Linked DNA regions of Homo sapiens: region 2 is linked to region 1. The links are contacts of gene promoters, found by promoter capture Hi-C in blood cells and fetal thymus (Javierre and others, 2016). All regions are on one chromosome and are shown on one strand. Each heading gives the region's core, a stretch centred on a gene start or on the middle of the fragment in contact. The rest is flanking DNA. Distances are from core to core; before and after follow the strand shown. Region 1 holds the start of TCL1A (TCL1 family AKT coactivator A). Region 2 has its middle 3.3 kb from the start of LINC02318.

Region 1 (3,406 bases), core at 535-3,034:
CCCAGGACGACGTCTTCCCGACGCAAGAGCACCCGTAACTGTAACCTATCCTTTATCTGAGGAGAAGAAAAGGACAGGGCATACTTTCAGGTTCCGCTTGCCAGGGCTTCTCCAGGCGCAGAAAACCGGAATCCCTCCTGCCAGCCATCCACCCATCTGGGCAGGGGTCCGAGTGTGAAATGATGGTCATCACTGTTCCCTGAAGCTCACTTCCTTAGGCCATGCATGCTCCTCTCAGGGACTCTGGCTGGGCCAGGACCACCAGCACACACACGTGTCTAGCCACCCAGACAGGGCCATGAAAGGCACACTTTTTTCTGGCGGGTTGCAGCGGCTCACACTTGTAATTCCAGTGCTTTGGAAGGCAGAGGCAGGAGGATCGCTTGAGGCCAGGAGTTTAAGACCAGCCTGGGTCACAGAGCGAGACCCTGTATCTACAGGAAAAAAAAAAAACAACAAAGAAAGAAAGAGAGAAAAAGAATACTGGCCTTTTCAATGATGTGAGGCAAAATCTGTCCCACAGTTTGCTAGTGGGTTATTTTTTGTGGAGCATGTATCATGATTTTATGAAAAACTGTCTGGTTCGTGGTTTTGGTGTCACGTTGAAGAAGAGATTTCTCAGAGATTTAAAAAAAGAAATCCACTGAATCTTCAAATTATTTCTTCAAATTTTGATTTTAAAAAAGTAAGTATTTAACTTGATTTTTAAAGTAAAAACATATTTAAAAAATTGAAATGCCAATAAAAATGCAGATTTTGTGGTGGTTAAGAGCCTAGAATTCCAACCCCATTACCTACTAGCAATCTTACCTCGGACAAATGTACATTTTTGTGCCTCAGTTTCCCATCTGTAGAGACACAGTCAACACTCAATAATTTTTGATTGCTACTGGACATACGTGTTCTAATATATTTTTTAATTTTTATGCTTTCTTCAGTGTATGTTTGGAGAGAGTTTGAACATTTTTTGACTCTTTTTCATTGAGTAAATCCAAATACTTGTAAAAGACTTATCTATTTCTTTAACAAAAACTTAACATGGATTAAGGACCCATCTTAAGGCATCACACATTAAAAAAGTCAATATTGATTCAATACCGGCGCTTATACTACGACATCACTTGTTAAATTTGTTTTCTAAATAAAGCCCAGAGGTAGTGGAAAATACTTCACACTCTAGGCCAGTGTTTGCTATGCCTGGTTGACCCTAAACTGTTGAGGGTTCTTTTTAAAAATACAGATTTCTGGGACCCACCTGAGATGATTCCGATAATCGGCCATATGGATGAGTCACTTAGAGATACCCATTTTTAAGGATTAGGACCCCGAAGCCCAGAAAATGCCTGCTGTAGTCAACATTATAGTCACACTCCACAGGCACTGGGTCCACCCCTTTGACCGACATTCCTTTGCGGTTTTCCCACCCTTCTTCCCTGCCTGGAGAACTCCTATTCATCCTCCAGAGCCCGGCTCAAAGTGGCTTCATCTGTGGGGATCCTCCCTGCCCCATAGTGAGTGCTCCTTGAGTCCTCGCCCTTCCTAGGGCATCCCAAGCTCCCAGGGGCTGCCCCTGCTGCCTCGCCATCCGCTCCAAAGCTGGCTGTACCTCGATGGTTAAGGGCAGCCAGGCGTGCTGCTTCTCGTCCAAATACACGAACTTCTCCCAGGCCCACAGGCGGTCCGGGTGGTCGGTGACTGCCTCCCCGAGTGTCGGGCACTCGGCCATGGCGTCCTCGGGCCGCCTAAGAAGCAAGAGCCAGAGCCTCTCAAGGCCGCTCGCTGGTCCCTGGGATGTGGGGCCGACCCTTTATATCCGGGCAGCATGCGGCCGCCACCAAGCGGCGGGGCGGGAGGACGGCCTTGGGGCGGGACCCCGGGTCGGGAGAACGACCTTGGGGCGGGGCGTAAGGCAGGATGGGGCGGGGTTTGTGGGGGTCTTGGTGGCAAGTGAGGGTCCCGCGCAGGCGCTACGTCCCGGCCTGACTTGCTCCCTGGAACGGTGGCAGCTCCTGGGAACGCAGACCCGGCCCCAGCTGGCCCGCGCCTTCCTCGAGGCCCCGGCCAGCAGCGACACCGACCGCCGCCCTCTGCTGCTGCTGGAGAGGCACCGGGGTGACCTTGGCCCTTTCTTCTTCTGGAAGACCCCCCCGCTTCCCTCGGCTGCCGGACCGGGACTCTGGGCCTCTGCTGGGAACTCACAGTCGACACCAGGATGCCCAGAGCCAGGACCCACTCCTCATCTTATGGGATCAGAAGAGACCCGCGCGGGCCTGAGTTAGGCCTGGGCTTTCCCGGGTTCCCTGGATCTCCACCAGCCTGTGCCTTTGAGTGTCAGAGTACGTTTTTTGGCAAAGGACAACTCCTGACGCTCCCTCTCCCTCTTCCATACACAAAGCATGCGTTTTCCACAGGTCTGATGTGCTGTGGACATCTAATAGCTATTACAAAATGGAGAATCATGGGTTTTTGCCCTTGGGCTTTGAGTTTACTAGTGAAAGCATAGTTCGAAATGAATACTTAAAAAGAAATCCCTCCTTCCACCCTAAGATCAATGGATTTGAAAAGTGCCTGGTTTATATGATCAAAACCACCCCTCTGTAAATTACAAGCAATAAGGAAAACAATTTCACTTTATTTTGCAGTAACGCATTCCCACTAAGGCAATTAAGAAAGTCATGCACAATGAAAAACATGTGAAACCAGCTCCAGCCTGGTTCAAACATCACCATGGGATGGAGTTTGGTGTCTCATCTTCCAGCTCTTTCCCAGTTCTCTGACCAGGCACTAAGAACATAATTTGTGATCCTTTGAAATATCACCAAAGTGGAAATTAAGAGATCTGATGAGGACATCTGATTCACCTGGCAGCTGGGTATCTGCCTCTTTGCCTATCCAGAGAGCCTAATTCCCAAGAAGGGGCTGAGAGGGCCTAAGGTAGTCGAGACATAATGGGATTTACCAGGAACACAACATAGAAGAGAAAAGCCAAGGGAAGTTGGGGGTGGAGTGAGGGCCCTTGAGCTCAGCAAACCTCTTTTCCACTGTAGCCCTTAGTGGTGTTAATATTTAATATGCAAACTTAAAGGTTTCATGCTGATTTTCCTGTGAATGGCTCTTGACTCCAGACCTAGATAGCCACAGAGCAAGATGACAAGCTCGCTAATAAGCTCTGTTGGGGAGGTCTCAGCCCAGGCCAGAGCTGTGAAGTGAGAAATAAGTCCAGTTTAAATAGTGCTGCTGGGATGGACTTTTGTGGCCAGGGAAGGGGTACCCAGGAGCCAGTGTGGCCACTGACCCAGCCTCATCAATGGCCCTAGGATCCAGAATGCCACAAACAATGGAGCAAGAATCAGATCTGTGTGTCTGGGTAAGCAGAATGTTCTGAGAATATAATTCCTTTTTCCTT
Region 2 (3,406 bases), core at 334-2,833, 140 kb before region 1:
GAGTTGTGAAAAGAATAAAAAGAGAGCTTATATATAATGTACTTAGCACATCGGAGATATCAAGCAAATTGAATACCTAAGATGTTACTTATTCTACTTTTCCTACTCTGCCATGCATTTAAGTTATTTGAGTGTAATGATGACTGTGGTGGTGAAGACAAAGGGTGTGAGACATAATTAAAAGATAGAATTGGAGATGTTGAGATAAGGGAGAAGCAGAAGCTGAGTATAAAGTCCAACTTTCTGCACCGTGGCCTCGGAGCTGGCATTCCCTGGGCCAGTTATGGGTGGGTTTCACACTTTTCTATTGCCTAGGGTTCCTTGGCCTAATGACAGAGTTCATCAACACTGTACAAATGCACGTGCAATGGAGTGGTGTTTCCATTTGTGTGGTCACAGTGGGGAGTGGGGAGAGAAATTCTAAGAGATAAACCCCGGCATCTTTTTTTAAGATGACTTGAAACCCATCTAGTATGCAGACTGTGGGGGCCAAGTGCTATTAGCCACTATCAGGAATTATTCATCAAGTCTAGTCATGTGAGAGGGGCTTGGAAGCCCTTGCAGTTTCTAATCACCACTGGTGTGTGAAATAGATTTTAATTAGCATACAGGTTGTAGGAGTCTTTGATCAGTCCTGCCATTTGGATCATATAACTGACCCAACAGTTTGAGATTCTCTAAGCCCTAGTAATAAATAGCAGGGAGAAGAAGAGGCTTAGAATGTAATAATCATGGCTCAGCCTCGGGTTTGGGATGATAAAGCTTCTTGCTGAATATATGCAGGCCTTCTTGATCCTGGGCATTAAACAACTTTTCTCTCTCTCTTCTCTCTCTCTCTCTCTCTCTCTCTCTCTCCTCTCTCTCTCTATCTCACTGTATGTGTGTAAAATAAGTTTGGGGAATTATTTTCTAAATATCAACATTTAGGGGGCTGGGGGTTATTTGTTAAATATCAACATTTCCAAAAAAATACAGGTGTCTTCAAATCAACCATTTTTGATAGCCAGAGATCACAGTGTGCTGGCAGTATGATGGGTTTTCTTAGCAAACTGAGGTAATCACACTAACCACTTTCATGGCATTTCCCAGGGGACCAGCGTTTCCGGAGGCATCAGGCGGAAGGCAGAGATCTAGGATCTGATTGAAAAAAACACCTGCAATCAAATGCATTCTCAAACCATTTATCTAGGTACAGGTGTGAGCATAGATTTAGGTGTAGGCATAGGTATAGGTATATGTATAGATATAGATGTACCTAAATCTATAATCCTTGGAGATTCTTTGTCATCTCTGAATCTCTGCCTTCTCATCTCTAAAGTGGGTTTAATAACAGTCTCTCCCTGATGGAGTTACTGTAAGGATTAAATGAGATACCATAATCTAAAAATCCTGGCAGAGTATCTTTCCTCTTTCATGTTTTTCATTTTTGTTGTTGTTGTTGTTAGATTGTTTGTTTTTGAGATGGAGTCTTGCTATGTTGCCCAGGCTGGAGTGAAGTGGCGCGATCTCAGCTCACTGCAACCTCCCGTGTTCAAGCCATTCTCCTGCCTCAGCCTCCCAAGTAACTGGTAGCCGGGATTACAGGCATCTGCCATCACACCTGGCTAATTTTTGTATTTTTAGTGGAGACAGGGTATCACCATGTTGGCCAGGCTGACCTCAAGTGATACACCCACCTCGGCCTCCCAAAGGGCTAGGATTATAGGTAGGCACCACCACACCAGACTAATTTTTGTATTTTTAGTAGAGACAGGGTTTCACCATGTTGGCCAGGCTGGTCTTGCACTCCTGACCTCAAGTGATCTGCCCGCCTCGGCCTCCCAAAGTGCCAGGATTACAGGCATGAGCCACCGCACCCAGGCTTCATTTCTTTTTTCTAACTTTTCTTGGTTATCTTTCCAGCTTCCTCTTCCCGATGAACTTTAGAATCATTTTGTCAACAGATTTTCTTTTTAATTTATGCTCACCTACACACATTCAAGGCATTGAAAAATAGCCGCAATTTCAGCCTGTCCTCAGCCCTGCAAAACATGGGCGGCGTTTGGCAGGAGATGCTTCCGCTTTCACCTTCTGAGAGCCAGTGGTCACCAGCCTCACCTCTCTGCTGGCACCTGGCAAAGGGAAAATAACTTGCTGAGGACTCTGGGAGGATTTGCTCATCTCTCCATCAGCCTCACCCTGGCAGTGGGATTTCTGCTTCTCCTTTGAAAGGCAGTCTGGTGAGACGCTGATAGTGATGCTGATCTGATGCTGGTGCTGATTCTAACGCCAATGCCAATTTTATCAGTTATATAATAACAGCAACATGAATAGTATTTTTTGAGTATTTGTTCTGGGTCAGAAACTGTGCCAATCATTTTACATATTTTATCTCCTCTAATGTAGTCAATATGGTACAGGAGTTGGAAGCTTTTTCTGTAAAGCATAAAAGCATAAATATTTTCAGCTTTGCTGGCCATACGTTCTCTATTGCAACTATTCAACATTCTTTTTCTTTTCTTTTTTTCTTTGTTTTTTTGGAGACAGAGTCTCACTCTCTCACCCAGGCTGGAGTGCAGTGGCGTGATCTCAGCTTACTGCAGCCTCTGCCTCCCAGGTTCAAGCAACTCTCCTGCCTCAGCCACCCAAGTAGCTGGGATTACAGGCATGTGCCACCACGTCTGACTAATTTTTGTATTTTTAGTAGAGATGGGGTTTTGCTATGTTGTCTAGGCTGGTCTCAAACTCCTGAGCTCAAGTGCTATTCCCACCTTGGCCTCCCAAAGTGCTGTGATTACAGGCGTGAGCCACTGTGCCCAGCCTCAACTTTGCTTGTATAGTGCAAAAACAGCCATAGCCAATACGTAAACAAATGGGCATGGCTGTGTTCAAATAAACATTTACAAAAACACTCAGTGTGTTGAATTTGGCCCACAGACCATAGATTGCCAACCCTAGCAGAAAGGAATGGCTCAGAGGGGAGACTCTTCAGCCAGACTGCTTGGATTCGAAACCAAGCTCTGGCACTTTTTGCCTCTGGAGCCTTAGGTGAATTATTTAGCCTCTTTGTGGTGAAGTCCCTCAACATTCTTCCTTTCCCTTTTTGTATAATAGGTTTTTGCCAGGCACAGGGCAGTCCAGAATAGAGACTCCATTCCTCAGCTCCCTTGTAGCTATGTGAGGCCATGTGCCTACGTCCCACCCAGTGGGATCTGAGCCAAAATGTCATGTTAGTTTCTGGGAGGTCTTCCTCAAGAGACAGCCCCTGTCTCATTTTTTGGTCTTTGCTTTGTTTTATAATCCCTTCCTCTATCGTGCTGTTCTCATTGGTGCTGCCAGCATGGCCCATGGGCTTTAGTCAAGGCACTGTTGATGGGTGCCCAGCTGCATTTCAGACTTGTTATGGACTGGGAACACCTAGGTATGT

The links. Contacts are between HindIII fragments. The CHiCAGO score rates a contact against its expected background, and 5 or more counts as called.
Region 2: a contact is called between a fragment that was not itself captured here and the fragment with the promoter of TCL1A in region 1, in 1 of 17 cell types (naive B cells). The highest score is 5.3, in naive B cells.

The regions. Positions count from the first base shown.
Region 1 is chr14:95,712,341-95,715,746 of GRCh38, forward strand. TCL1A (TCL1 family AKT coactivator A) reads right to left here and starts at 1,785. Exons shown (of 4, transcript NM_021966.3): 1 at 1,607-1,785; 2 at 1-56. The coding sequence starts at 1,726. It overlaps LOC107984703 (a long non-coding RNA gene), which reads left to right and starts at 3,143. Exons shown (of 3, transcript NR_148060.1): 1 at 3,143-3,367. RefSeq lists enhancers at 1-145, 186-405, 1,520-1,569 and a silencer at 1,800-2,039. The HindIII fragment of the contact is 7,267 bases long and covers 1-3,406 here.
Region 2 is chr14:95,568,553-95,571,958 of GRCh38, forward strand. No RefSeq gene overlaps it. Among named protein-coding and RNA genes, the nearest start is that of LINC02318, 3.3 kb to the right of the region's middle. The HindIII fragment of the contact is 1,647 bases long and covers 761-2,407 here.